Linked DNA regions of Homo sapiens: all the other regions are linked to region 2. The links are contacts of gene promoters, found by promoter capture Hi-C in blood cells and fetal thymus (Javierre and others, 2016). All regions are on one chromosome and are shown on one strand. The core of a region is centred on a gene start or on the middle of the fragment in contact, and the rest is flanking DNA. Distances in the headings are between cores, read along the strand shown.

Region 1 (2,797 bases), core at 109-2,608, 260 kb before region 2:
CCCGCCTCAGCTTTCCAAAGTGCTGGGATTACAGGCATGAGCCACCACGCCCGGATTTTTTGTTTTTCTTTTAGACTGAGTCTTGCTCTGTCACCCAGGTTGGAGTGCAGTGGGGCGATCTTGGCTCACTGCAACCCGAGCCTCCCAGGTTCAAGTGATTCTTGTGCCTCAGTCTCCTGAATAGCTGGGGTTACAGGTGCCTGCCACCACGCCTGGCTAATTTTTGTATTTGTAGTAGAGATGGGGTTTTGCCATGTTGGCCAGGCTGGTCTCGAACTCCTGACCTCAGGTAATTCACCCGCCTCAGCATCCCAAAGTGCTGGGATTACAGGCATGAGCCACCATGCCTGGCCGATTATCCCCTTATGATAGCTGGAAAATGGAGGAAGGCACAGAGAGGTTAAGTCGCTAGCTTGAGGCCGCATGGCTAGGCCGTAGTGAAGACAGTGTCTGAACCCATAGTGTCAGACCCCTGATCTGATCTTGACCATCAGCCCCTAGGGCCCCTCTCTCCCTGATCCTCAGCCTCATTTTGTGTTCTGCCCAAGGCGTCTCCAGGATCCCAAGAGAGCTTCCGAGAGAGTCTATGCACTGTGAATTTTCCCAGGTTGGCCCAGGGCCTACTTGGACTTCTCAAGGTCTAGAAAAAGGCCTGGGAATCACCAGCGCTCTGAGTCCCCATTTGGGGGCCTCTGGCCTTATCCCCACATCAGGCACCAGGGAGGTGGTGGCACAGAAGAGGCTTCCAGGAAGATCATGAACTGCCCCTTGCTTCCATTCCAGGCGTCCAGCCCAGCTCCCAGGCATCTGGGTTGCAAGAATCCTGGCCACCTGCAGGGGGAGTCAAGAGTGGGAGAAACTGGCTCCTGCTCCTGCTCCTGCTTGCAAGGAAATACCGGGAATGGGTCTGGGCCCTGGAAAATCCTGGACAGGTGTCTGAGAGCAGGACTGGATTAAACTGGGCTGCCTGGTGAACCACCATCTCTGGCTCCTATGGACTCCAGTGTGTGTATGCGTGATCGTGTGCCTGTGCGTGTGTGTGTCTGTGATCAGATGAGGTTTCTAGACCAAGGCTCAGATCTCCTCTGGGGAAGATATCAGGCAGTGGACTTGTGAAAACCCCTGAGAATCTTGCAAGAGAATATTCTGAGCCTTTCACAGTAATCTAAGGATGTGTTTATTGACAGATATGGGGGGAAAGCCTGCTTAAATTCATATGTGTAATATGATCCCACTTATGGGAAATATATATATATATATATATATATATATATTTTTTTTTTTTTTTTTTTTTTTTTTTTTTTTTTTTTTGAGACAGAGTCTCACTCTGTTGCCCAGGCTGGAATGCAGTGGCACAATCTTGGCTTACCGCAACCTCTGCCTCCTGGATTCAAGCAATTCTCCTGCCTCAGCCTCCTGAGTAGCTGGGATTACAGGCGTGCGCCACCATGACTGGCTAATTTTATATTTTTAGTAGATATAAAAACTATATTTTTATATTTTAGTAGGGTTTCACCATGTTGGTCAGGCTGGTCTCGAACTCCTGACCTCGTATTGTGATCCACCTATCCCAGCCTCCTAAAGTGTTGGGATTACAGGTGTGAGCCACTGTGCCTGGCTTTTTTTTTTTTTTTTTTTGAGATGGAGACTCACTCTGTCACCCAGGCTGGAGTGCAATGGCATGATCTCAGCTCACTGCAACCTCTGCCTCCCTGGTTCAAATGATTCTCCTGCTTCAGCTTCCCCAGTAGCTGAGATTATAGGCACCCGTCACCATGTCTGGCTAATTTTTGTATTTTTAGTAGAGACAGGGTTTCACCATGTTGGCCAGGCTGGCCTCGAACTCCTGACCTCAAGTGATCCACCTGCCTCGGCCTCCCAAAGTGCTGGGATTACAGGAGTGAGCCACCACACTGGGCCTGGAAATACGTATTAATATGAATAGATGATGCATCTATTGCAGTAGAATATACTGCTATATGAGACACATGAGTATGGTCACACATTGCATAACAAGGTCTCTGTTGTATGTATGGTGCATATATGACAATGGTTCCATACATTATAATGGAACTGAAAAATTCCTCTTGCCTATTGACATCGTAGCCATCATAATGTATCAAAAGGCATTACTCACGTGTTTGTGAAGATGCTGGTGTAAAAAACCTACTGTGCTGCCAATTGTATCAATATATAGCACATGAAATTACATACAGTACATATTATTACTTGATCATGGTAGTAAAGGACTATGTTACTGGCTTGTATATTTACTCTACTTTTTATCATTATCTTAGAATGTATTCCTTCTACTTTTTTTTTTTTTTTTGAGATGGAGTCTCGCTCTGTTGCCCAGGCCGGAGTGCAATGGCGTGATCTCGGCTCACTGCAACTTCTGCCTCCTGGGTTCAAGCGATTCTCTTGCCTCAGCCTCCTGAGTAGCTGGGACTACAGGCATGTGCCACCATATCTGGCTAATTTTCTGCATTTTTAGTAGAGACGGGGTTTCACTGTGCTAGCCAGGATGGTCTCGACTCCTGACCTCGTGATCCGCCCACCTCGGCCTCCCAAAGTGCTGGGATTACAGGCGTGAGCCACTGCGCCCGGCCCTTCTACTTATTTATGTTTTTTTTAGAGGCAGGGTCTCACTCTGCTGTCCAGGCTGGAGTGCATTGGTGCAATCATAGCTCAATGCAGCCTTAACCTCCCGGGCTCAAGTGATCCTCCCACCTCAGTCTTCCAAGTAACTGGGACTATAGGTGTGTGCCACCATGCCCAGCTAATTTTTGATTTTTTG
Region 2 (2,856 bases), core at 191-2,690:
ACTTTGTTCCCCGTGGAGTAAACGCTTCGGCTGTTATTATGTCCTGTCATTGGCCCAGTGGAGGCTATGTCAGCCAATTACCCCCAGGTACCATTTAACCAACCCATGAGGTCCCCAAGGGGAACCCAGCCTTCAGGGTATCACTGAAGGTGCAGTAACAAGCCTTGCCCTAAGCACTCTGCTGTTTCACAATCATCCTAAATGTCCCTTTGGCCAAGGCCTGGGCTGAGCACTGGGGGAGCAGAGGAGGGAAGGGTGAATCCAGGGGGCCCTGTCAATCTGATAGAGGAAATGGAACACACACCCAGGACTCTGGCAGCTTAAGAAATAAGAGCAATGAAATAATCCCACCTGCATGCCAGAGGAACAGGAGAGCTGTTGCTAAGAGAGGAGGAGACTTGAAGGCAGCTTAAGTTTGAGAAAAGGAAATCGGGTTAGGTGGAAGAAGGAGCCTCTGTAGCTTAAAGGGAATGAAGTTCTAGAATCTAGTTCTTGGTTTTAGATCTGAAGAGTCTTGACCTCTTCCTAATAACTGATCACATTTTGATGCTGAATCAGAAATGACTGGGTGGCAAATGACCTGAGCAGAGGTTTGCTGGATGGGATAAATAAGCCTCTTCTGCTATTAAAAGAAAACAAAAATGAAAACAACCGAAAGCCTTAGGAAACACCATCTGCTAAACCATGCCTGAGTCTTCCTGTACCACCTCCCCAGGCCTTCTTCCCTCCCTCCCAGATAGCATGGTCCCCATTCTTAGTCCAGAAATGCTTAGTGGAGAAATCTTTTCGCTCTGGTCCAAAGTCAACCCTCAACACTTGTGACCAGAGGTCTCTGTGTCCTGCCTTCTCCAACAGACTGAGAGGTCTCTGCAGACGGGGCCAAAATCTCCTCCTTCTGAACTTCCTTCTTGCACAAGGGACAGAGCTGTCCTCATCCAGAAGCCTGGGAGGCAGGAGGAGGACAGGCTAAGGATGATTTTCTGCGATAGTCTTGACTCTATTCATGGCCTTCTGAAGCAGAAGCAGCCTGGACTTCTGCTTCACACACCTCCGTCTCCCCAGACACACACCCAGAGGGTCAGCCCCACTGGAAGTTTCCAGGGGTGATCTTGGGAGTGATAACCCCAGTAATTGGAGGCCAGCAGGTGGAGATAAGGTCGCTAAGCCATGATAATGCAGGAGGTGAGCCAAGTAAATGCTGGGTTCTGGGTCACTTTACAGGGATTCATGGGGAGTTCACGGTGGAACAGACAAAAATCTCGGTGAGTGCATGGTAATTTCCTACATGAAGAACCCAAGAGGCCTCAAGGGATCTAAAAGGTGTTGTCGACATACAAATTAGGCTGACTCCAGCCAGCCAGGCTATTTAAGGGGCGAGCTGGGCCGAGAACGCAGCGGCTGTTTGCGCCCCTTCTGCCTCCCGCGCGGCCAGCACCGGTACTTGCGAGCCATGAGCCGCCAACTGACCCATTTCCCCCGCGGGGAGCGCCTGGGCTTCAGCGGTTGCTCCGCGGTCCTCTCTGGCGGGATCGGCAGCAGCTCCGCCTCATTCCGGGCCCGGGTCAAGGGCTCGGCCTCCTTTGGCAGCAAGAGCCTCTCCTGCCTTGGGGGCAGCCGAAGCCTGGCGCTCAGCGCTGCTGCACGGCGGGGCGGCGGCCGCCTGGGCGGCTTCGTGGGCACCGCCTTCGGCAGCGCCGGGCTGGGGCCCAAGTGTCCCTCCGTGTGCCCACCCGGGGGCATCCCTCAGGTCACCGTCAACAAGAGCCTCCTGGCCCCGCTCAACGTGGAGATGGACCCCGAGATCCAGAGGGTGCGCGCCCAGGAGCGGGAGCAGATCAAGGCGCTAAACAACAAGTTCGCCTCCTTCATCGACAAGGTGAGTCCTCGGGCATTGGCCTGTCCCTGCGTTGGGCGCATGTGCACAGTGGTGCTGGCTCTGCCACTGGCGAGCTGTGTGGGAGCGTGGGCGGGTCATAACCTCTCCGAGCCTCCCTTTTCCATTTGTAAAATGGGCACAATAATGGGTCTTACTCCAGTGGGTTGCGATGAGGCTTAATTGGGATGTTTACGAAGTGCTCAGAACAGTGCCTGGCACATACTTCCAATAAACAGGATGTATTAGCCCATTTTCATGCTGCTGATAAAGACATACCCGAGACTGGGAAAAAAAAAAAGAGGTTTCATTGGACTTACAGTTCTCCATGGCTGGGGAGGTCTCAGAATCATAACGGGAGGCCAAAGTCACGTCTTATATGGCGGCGGCCAGAGAAAAATGAGGCAGAAGCAAAAACGGAAACCCCTGATAAACGCATCAGATCTCGTGATACTTATTCACTATTAGGAGAATAGCAGGAGAAAGACCGGCCCCTATGATTCATTTACCTCCCCCCTGGGTCCCTCCCACAACACGTGGGAATTCTGGGAGACTTAATTCAAGTTGAGATTTGGGTGGGGACACAGCCAAAACGTATCAAGGACCTTCATTTCTTTCTTGCATGAGACAAGACTGTGAGAAGGGAGGGGTCAGGATGTCCAAGGAATGGGCACTTTGAGAGCTCCCAATATCAGAAGAGGAGATGGGACCCACATTCAGGGCAGGGCATTAGGAACAGAGGCCAAGAGACGTTGCAGGACATGGTGCTTGGTGCTTGAGGAGTGGGGTAAGTGTGTAGCCAGGAAGATGATAGAGGAGGTGAGAGAAAAGGGCCAGAAAACTGAAGGGTGAGGCTGAGGAGGCACTTGGAAAGAGTGCATGTAAAGTTACAGGTGTGTGCTGAGGGTGGGGCATCCAGAAATTGGGGTAATAGGGAAGTTGTCTCTGGAGCTTCTGAGGCAATGACCCCAGTGAGTGGAGAG
Region 3 (2,700 bases), core at 52-2,551, 380 kb before region 2:
ACAACAAATAAATAATTCAAACTTGGATCTGGTCTGACTTCAAAGCTTTTTCTACTATGTCATTTGGTCTTGTCCGAAACCCTAGTTCCCTTTTTCTTTTTTTTGAGACAGAGTCTCACTCTGTTGCCCAGGCCGGAGTGCAGTGGTGCGATCTCAACTCACTGCAACCTCCGCCTCCTGGGTTCAAGCGATTCTCCTGCCTCGTCTCCTGAGTAGCTGGGACTATAGGCGTGCGCCACTATGCCTGGCAAATTTTTGTATTTTTAGTAGAGATGGGGTTTCACTGTGTTGGCCAGGCTGGTCTCGAACTCCTGACTTTGTGATCCGCCCACCTTGGCCTCCCAAAGTACTGGGATTACAGGCCTGAGCCACTGTACCCAGCCTCTCTTTTTTTTTTTTCCTTGAGATGGAGTCTCACTCTATCACCCAGGCTGGAGTGCAATGGTGCAATCTGGGCTCACTGCAATCTCTACCTCCCGGGTTCAAGCAATTCTCCTGCCTCAACCTCCTGAGAAGCTGGGATTACAGGCACCTGCCACCACGCCTGGCTAATTTTTGTATTTTTTTAGTAGAGATAGGGTTTCGCCATGTTGGCCAGGCTGGTCTCCAATTCCTGACCTCAGGTTATCCGCCCTCCTCAGCCTCCCAAAGTGCTGGGATTACAGGCGTGAGCCACCACGCCTGGCAGTTTCCTTTTTCATAACATGGGACCACTTATACTTACCTATCTTGGAAAGCTTAGGGATCATTTATTTCAAATCCTTAGCACAGTACCTGCCACACAGTAAGCACTTGAAGAGTGGTAGTTCTGTATAAAAGAGTTCATAGGCTGGGCCTGGTGGCTCACGCCTGTAATCCCAGCACTTTGGGAGGCTGAGGCAGGTGGATCACGAGGTCAGGAGATCAAGACCATCCTGGCTAACATGGTGAAACCCTGTCTGTACTAAAAATACAAAAAATTAGCCGGGCGTGGTGGCACGTGCCTGTGGTCCCAGCTACTCAGGAGGCTGAGGCAGGAGAATCACTTGAAACCTGGAGGCAGAGGTTGCAGTGAACCAAGATCATGCCACTGCACTCCAGCCTGGGTGACAGAGTGGGACTCTGTCTCAAAAAAATAAAAATAAAAAATAAAATAAAATAGTTCATAAACTGCAAAGCATTATATAAATATTAGGTATTATTATAAAGACATAGGTCGGGCGGGGGTGCAGGGGCTCACACCTGTAATCCCAGCACTTTGGGAGGCCGAGGCGGGCGGATCACGAGGTCAGGAGATTGAGACCATCCTGGCTAACACGGTGAAACCCTATCTCTGTCTAAAAATACAAAAAATTAGCTGGGCGTGGTGGCGGGTGCCTGTAGTCCCAGCTACTCGGGAGGCTGAGGCAGGAGAATGGCGTGAACCTGGAAGGCAGAGCTTGCAGTGGGCCGAGATCGTGCCACTGCACTCCAACCTGGGCTACAGAGCAAGATTCCGTCTCAAAAAAAAAAATAAAAAAAAAAATAAAGACATAGGTCGGGCATAGTGGCCCACACCTGTAATCCCAGCACTTTGGGAGGCTGAGGCGGGTGGATCACAAGGTCAGGAGTTTGAGACCAGTCTCAAAAAAAAAAAAAAAAGACATAAACACCAGATCAAAGACTGTGTAAATAGGACTGAGCCAATCTGGAGAAGCATTGTGCAGGAGGCAGCATGAAGGAGGATGAGAGGTGTGTCAGGGCAAGGGCAAATAGGGAAGGACCAGGAAACCCAGGGGGACACATGCCTGACATTCACAGGGCCAGTTCCTCGACTCCTGCACCATGATCACTGCCATTCTGTCTGTGCCGCTAGCATGGCCCTCCAGAATGAACTGCAAGCTTGCTTGAGGCTCTGGAGAGCTCTTACGTCCACTGACGTTGTTTAAGCTCCAAGAGGCTCTGATTCCATGAACTCTGCCAATGAGAAGGTTGAAAAGAAATTGGAAGTCAATGTGGATGGAGCAGCCGCCTATTAGCAAATTTGGCCAAATGGTGGTGCTATAAGCCAGAAAATCAAAGCCATTCTAGTAGCCAGGATGACTGGAACAATGGTCTCTGCACCTAGAAGGCCACCAGGGGGCAGAGGGAGGCAAGACTGCTTTTCTCAGGGACAGCTGGAGTCACCAAGTCAAAAAGGCCATCAGTGCCGGACGTGGTGGCTCACATGTGTAATCTCAGCACTTTGGGAGGCCGAGGCTTGAGGTCAAGAGTTCAAGACCAGCCTGGCCAACTTGGTGAAAGCCTGCCTCTACTAAAAATACAAGAAATTAGTCGGGCATGGTGGTGCGTACCTCGGGAGGCTGAGGCAGGAGAATAGCTTCAATCCAGGAGGTGGAGGTTGCGGTGAGCTGAGATCATGCCATTGCACTCCAGCTTGGGTGACAGATCGAGACTCCATCTCAAAAAAAAAAAAAATGCCATCAGAGTCATTTAATAAAACAAATGGCTATATTGATGCAGTGCCAGAAATAAAACAGAATAACTCAAACAGGTGCAGATCTTGCTATGAAATGCTTAAAGGGATAGGAGTCATTACAAAATGCTTAAAGGGATAGTTCAAGGGAGCTCTGCAGCCTCATCCCTTAACCTGCCCCCCTCACCATACAACTTGTTGCTATAAGTGTCACCCTGTCGCCATGGCTTTTCCTCCCTTCCTCTGTTCCCATACCTTCCCCATAC
Region 4 (2,804 bases), core at 267-2,766, 360 kb before region 2:
TCCTTGTGGTTCAACTGTCTCACAATACTCAATACCTACAAAGCAAATGACTGGACACTGGACACTGCTCCAGAAAAATCCCACAGCCTCATGACCAGACGTGCTAGCAGGAACAATCAAAGCAGCAGAGGAGGGTCTTCACCTCACTTCCACTTTCCGAATCGTATTCATCTGCATCTAATTAGTGCGACATAATTCACTTCCTAGCTGCAAGGACATCTGGGAAATGCACTTTTTAGCTCTTTGGTTTCTGAAGCAGAAAGGTACCAATTTGGAATGGAGCTGAATGCCAATCCATTCCAACTACTGCCTTTGGATTTTGCAGCCAGACTGCCTGGGTTTGAATTCTGGCTTTGCCATTTATTTAGCTGTGAGACCTTAAGGAAGGTAGTTTACCTTTCTGAGCCTCAGTTTCTTCACCTGTAAAATGAGGATTGTAATACTATCCGTCTCATAGGGTTGTTGTTAGGATTAAGTGAATTAATATATGTAATGTGCTTAGCACAGTGCCTGACACATAGAAAGTGCTCAGTAAATACTGGTTACTGGCCAGGCGCGGTGGCTCATGCCTGTAATCCCAGCACTTTGGGAGGCCAAGGTGGGTGGATCACCTGAGGTCAGGAGTTTGAGACTAGCTTGGCCAACATGGTGAAACCCCATCTCTACTAAAAATACAAAAATTAGCCAGGCATGGTGGTGCACGCCTGTAATCCCAGCTACTTGGGAGGCTGAAGCAGGAGAATCACTTGAACCTGGGAGGCAGAGGTTGCAGTGAGCTGAGTTCGTGCCATTGCACTCTAGCCTGGGTGACAAGAGTGAAACTCTGTCCCCCCCAAAAAAAACCAAATACTGGTTATTATGGTAATTGCCATTGTTATATGACCAATCCAGGATGACACCAGGATGAAGAAAACAGGGTAGGCTGGGTGCGGTGGCTCACGCCTGGAATCCCAGGACTTTCAGAGGCTGAGGTGGGCAGATCACCTGAGGTCAGTAGTTTGAGACCAGCCTGGCCAACATGGTGAACCCCCCATCTCTACTAAACATACAAAAATGGTTGGGTGTGGTGGCGCATGCCTGTAGTCCCAGCTACTTGGGAGGCTGAGGCAGGGGAATCACTTGAACCCAGCAGGTGGAGGTTGCAGTGAGCTGAGATCACGCCATTGCACTCCAGCCTTGGCAACAAGAGTGAAACTGTCTCAAAACAAAACAAAACAAACAAACAAAAAACAATAACACAAACCAAAGAAACAAAAAAATAGGGTACCTGTCTTCAAGGCATTTCCAGTCTCATGGGGAAGATGACATAAATAGCTAAGTATGCCACATGATGAAATGAAACAAAGGCAGTTGGAAAATATAGCACGGTTCTGAAGCTCAAGAGAGGCTAGGGCTGGAGGTAAATATTGAGATACCAGCTCAGAGGTAGCAACAGAGTCAGGGAATAAAAATAAGATTGTCCATGGCCAGGCACGGTGGCTCACACTTGTAGTCCCAGCACTTTGGGAGGCTGAGGTGGGTGGATCACTTGAGGTCAAGAGTCCAAGACCAGCCTGGCCAACATGGTGAATCCCCATCTCTACTAAAAATACAGAAAATTAGCTGCCTGGTGGTGGGTACCTGTAATGCCAGCTGCTTGGGAGGCTGAGGTAGAAGAATCGCTTGAACCCCAAAGGTGGAGGTTGCAGTGAGCCAAGATTGTGCCACTGCACTCCAGCCTGGGCGACAGAGTTAGACTCCATCTCCAAAAAAAAAAAAAAAAGGCCCAAGAAGAGAAAAAGCTGAGGACAGCCTGCAAGGCCTGTGTTTAAAGGGCAGATGGATGAAGTGCAGCAGGCAGAGGTGAGAGGACTGCGGAGCGCAGTGGTGTGCAGGTCAAGAGCAGAAGGACATCAGGGTCAAGTGCTGCAGAGGCTGAAAAAGATGAGGAGAGAGGGGAGGCTGCTGGACTTAGACTGGTGGCCTGTGAGGGCCTTCAGTGGCAGGGTGCAGGGGGGATGAGGAGGAGCTTTGGGGCAAGGTACGTTGGCAGTCGACCCTTTCCCAATGCCCTGTGGGCCCCAAGGAGACCTAAGGGTACATACAAGGGCAAACCTGAATGTGCAGGTCGGGGGCTGAGAGATGCTGCTCATACACCCAGGACCCATCCTCGCTGCTGATCCCCAAGATATGCCAGGCTAGGTCCCTCATCTCCTTCAGTCTTGGCCCAATGTCACTTCCTGCCCAGGCTGCCCTACTTAAAACTGCAATCTGCTGGCCAGGCGTGGTGGCTCACGCCTATAATCCCAGCACTTTGGGAGGCTGAGGCAGGTGGATCACCTGAGGTTGGGATTTTGACACCAGCCTGATCAACATGGAGAAACCCCCATCTCTACTAAAAATACAAAATTAGCCTGGCATGGTGGCGCATGCCTGTAATCCCAGCTACTCGGGAGGCTGAGACATGAGAATCTCTTGAACCCGGGAGGCGGAGGTTGCAGTGAGCTGAGATTGAGCCATCGCACTCCAGCCTGGGCAACAAGAATGAAACTCCATCTCAAAAGAAAAACAAAAACAAAAAATCCTGCAATCTGCTGCCCCCTTCCTATGGTAGGCTGAATAATGGTCCCCTCCCATCCCAAGATGTCCATATCCTAACCGCCCCTCTTTGCCTGTGAGTTTCCTTACACAGCAACAGGGACCTTGCCATGTAAATCAAAGATCTTAAGTTGGGGAGATTATGCTCATTGTCTGGGTAAATCTAATGTCATCAAAGGATCCTTATAAGAAGGAGGCAGAAGGGTCAGAGAAAGGAGATGTGAGGA
Region 5 (2,700 bases), core at 124-2,623, 290 kb before region 2:
CCACAATTTACTTAACCAGTCCTCTATTGGTATTTGCTATGACAATGGTGAGGATATCTTAATAATTCCTACAAGTGGAATTGCTGAAGCAAAATGTGTGCACATTTAAATTTTAGTAGACTTTTTGTTTTTAAAGCTTGATTTCCTATGGGACTGAATTTTAGTTTTTTAGAAAATTTACATGTGTAGAAGAAGGTTCCTGTTTGACTATTCCAGATGAGCCAGCCATTATCCCCCACTTCCCTCCACCCTGCCTTTCCCGACCCAACCACCCAGGATTAAAATGATGAGTCTTCCAAGCATTTGTGGACTCTTCTGAAGATATTTTAATTCCAAGGTTTTGCTCTGCCTGCCCGCTGATCTGGGCTAAGGTGGTCTAGGAGCTCCCCTGTAGTAGGGGGATCTGAAGGTGGGCTAAGGACCGAGGGCCAGGCTGACTGGAGTGTAAGGTGGTGGGAATGGAGGAGTGAATGTTAAAGCAAGGCATGTGACAATGCGGACAGTACATACCCTTCATGAAGGATAGATAGAAATGTGTGCATGCATGTCCCTACGTAATTATATATCATAGATTCTACCTGTTGGGAAAGGAAGAGGAAGCACCACTGCAAGGAAAGGAAGGCAGGGAAGGATACCAGCATGGTGGGTGGCCCCCTAGTTCACTCTCCGCGCTGCCCTTTTACACATTGTGGTGGGCATAGTTGCTTTGTCTAGCCAGGACCCCTTCCCCCTTCTTCTAGTAATGCAAAGCTCCCCCACCTCCACTCCTGCCACGCCCCACTTCTTTTCAGGAACTGTTCCTCCTAAGATCACAGGACCTCTGTCCAGGCACACAGGGTTCACAATGGGCCAGCCTTGGCCAATCACAAGTCCCTTTGTTTCCTCCTTGCTGAGGCATATTGTACATACAATAAAATGCAAAATGTGCTTTAATGGGGAATGTACAACCTGATGAGTTTTTTTATTTTTATTTTTATTTATTTTTTTTGAGATGGAGTTTCACTCTTGTTGCCCAGGCTGAAGTGCAATGGCACGATCTCGGCTCACTGCAACCTCCGCTGCCCAGGTTCAAGCGATTCTCCCGCCTCAGCCTCCTGAGTAGCTGGGACTACAGGCATGCGCCACCACGCCGGGCTAATTTTGTATTTTTAGTAGAGACGGGGTTTCTCCGTGTTGGTCAGGCAACTCCCGACCTCAGGTGATCCACCCGCCTCAGCCTCCCAAAGTGCTGGGATTACAGGCGTGAGCCACCGTGCCCGGCGCCTGATGAGTTTTAACTTATGTTCACACCTGTAATGTAGAACATTTCCTATATCACAGAAGGTTCACTTGGGCCCCTTGCCAGAGTGCACTTTTTTTTAGTAGACTTATTTTTTAAGAACAGTTTTAGCTAGGCGCTGTGGCTCATGCCTGTAATCCCAGCACTTTGGGAGGCTGAGGCGGGTGGATCACGAGGTCAGGAGATCGAGACCATCCTGGCTAACATGGTGAAACCCCGTCTCTACTAAAAAATACAAAAAAATTATCTGGGTGTGGTGGCAGGCGCCTGTAGTCCCAGCTACTCGAGAGGCTGAGGCAGGAGAATGGTGTGAACCCAGGAGGCAGAGCTTGCAGTGAACTGAGATCATGCCACTGCACTCCAGCCTGGGCGACAGAGAAAGACTCCGTCTCAAAAAAAAAAAAAAAAAAAAAAAAGAAAAAAAGAGCAATTTTAGGTTCATAGCAAAATCGAGCAGGAGGTAGAGGGTTCTCATACACATTCTGCCCCTACACCTGCATCCCACACCAGAGGGCTACATTTGTTACAACATCATCAACATCCCACCTCAGAGGGATACATTTGTTACGATTGATGAACCTACATTGACACATCATTATTACCCACAGTCCATAGTTCACATTAGAGTTAACTCTTAGTGTGGACATTCTGTGGGGGCCATGTAGCCACCATTACAGTACCATACAGAATAGTTCACTGCCCCCAAAATCAGAGTGCATTCTCAAAAATATGAATCAGATTCAGTTACTTCCTTATATGGAAAACCCTTTATTTTTATTTTATTTTTTTCTTTTCTTTCTTTATTTTTTATTATACTTTAAGTTCTAGGGTACATGTGCACAACATGCAGGTTTGTTACATATGTATACATGTGCCATGTTGGTGTGCTGCACCCGTTAACTCGTTAACTCTTCATTTACATTAGGTATATCTCCTAATGCTATCCCTCCCCTCTACCCCCACCCCACGACAGGCCCTGGTGTGTGATGTTCCCCACCCTGTGTCTAAGTGTTCTCATTGTTCAATTCCCACCTATGAGTGAGAACATGCGGTGTTTGGTTTTCTGCCCTTGCAATAGTTTGCTCAGAATGATGGGAAAACCCTTTACTTTTGACACCCAGAATAAAGCCCTAAATCTTGACTTGGCCCACAGGCTGTGCCTACTCTTCCTCCTCTGAGGCCTCATCCTGGCCACTCTGTCCCTTGCTCTCTGATGCAGTGGTGCAGGCTTTTCAGGGCATAGCCTACATGGAATTTGCTTCTGCTCAGGGCATTGCATGGCTGGCCCCCTGCTTGGAACACCCTGCCTTTCCTAGTCACTCCCAAGCTTTCCGCTCAAACGCAGCTTCCCCAAGAAAGTCTTCTGACACCACAAGACAAGACAAAAAGTTTTATGACACCACAAGACAAGAAAGTCTTCT

The links. The method cuts DNA at HindIII sites, captures the fragments that hold promoters and counts their contacts. A CHiCAGO score of 5 or more calls a contact.
Region 1: a fragment that was not itself captured here is called in contact with the fragment with the promoter of KRT72 in region 2 in 13 of 17 cell types (naive CD4 T cells, erythroblasts, total CD8 T cells and 10 more); the score reaches 15.6 in naive CD4 T cells.
Region 3: a contact is called between a fragment that was not itself captured here and the fragment with the promoter of KRT72 in region 2, in 1 of 17 cell types (naive CD4 T cells). The highest score is 5.0, in naive CD4 T cells.
Region 4: a contact is called between a fragment that was not itself captured here and the fragment with the promoter of KRT72 in region 2, in 1 of 17 cell types (M2 macrophages). The highest score is 6.0, in M2 macrophages.
Region 5: a fragment that was not itself captured here is called in contact with the fragment with the promoter of KRT72 in region 2 in 7 of 17 cell types (M2 macrophages, M1 macrophages, total CD4 T cells and 4 more); the score reaches 7.4 in M2 macrophages.

Annotation. Positions count from the first base shown.
Region 1 is chr12:52,863,556-52,866,352 of GRCh38, reverse strand. No RefSeq gene overlaps it. Among named protein-coding and RNA genes, the nearest start is that of KRT78, 16 kb to the right of the region's middle. The HindIII fragment of the contact is 5,339 bases long and covers 1-2,797 here.
Region 2 is chr12:52,600,047-52,602,902 of GRCh38, reverse strand. KRT72 (keratin 72) reads left to right here and starts at 1,440. Exons shown (of 9, transcript NM_080747.3): 1 at 1,440-1,876. The coding sequence starts at 1,451. The HindIII fragment of the contact is 8,078 bases long and covers 1-2,856 here.
Region 3 is chr12:52,980,395-52,983,094 of GRCh38, reverse strand. No RefSeq gene overlaps it. Among named protein-coding and RNA genes, the nearest start is that of EIF4B, 25 kb to the left of the region's middle. The HindIII fragment of the contact is 1,123 bases long and covers 740-1,862 here.
Region 4 is chr12:52,959,924-52,962,727 of GRCh38, reverse strand. No RefSeq gene overlaps it. Among named protein-coding and RNA genes, the nearest start is that of KRT18, 12 kb to the right of the region's middle. The HindIII fragment of the contact is 7,526 bases long and covers 1-2,804 here.
Region 5 is chr12:52,890,437-52,893,136 of GRCh38, reverse strand. No RefSeq gene overlaps it. Among named protein-coding and RNA genes, the nearest start is that of MIR9898, 7.2 kb to the left of the region's middle. The HindIII fragment of the contact is 2,470 bases long and covers 139-2,608 here.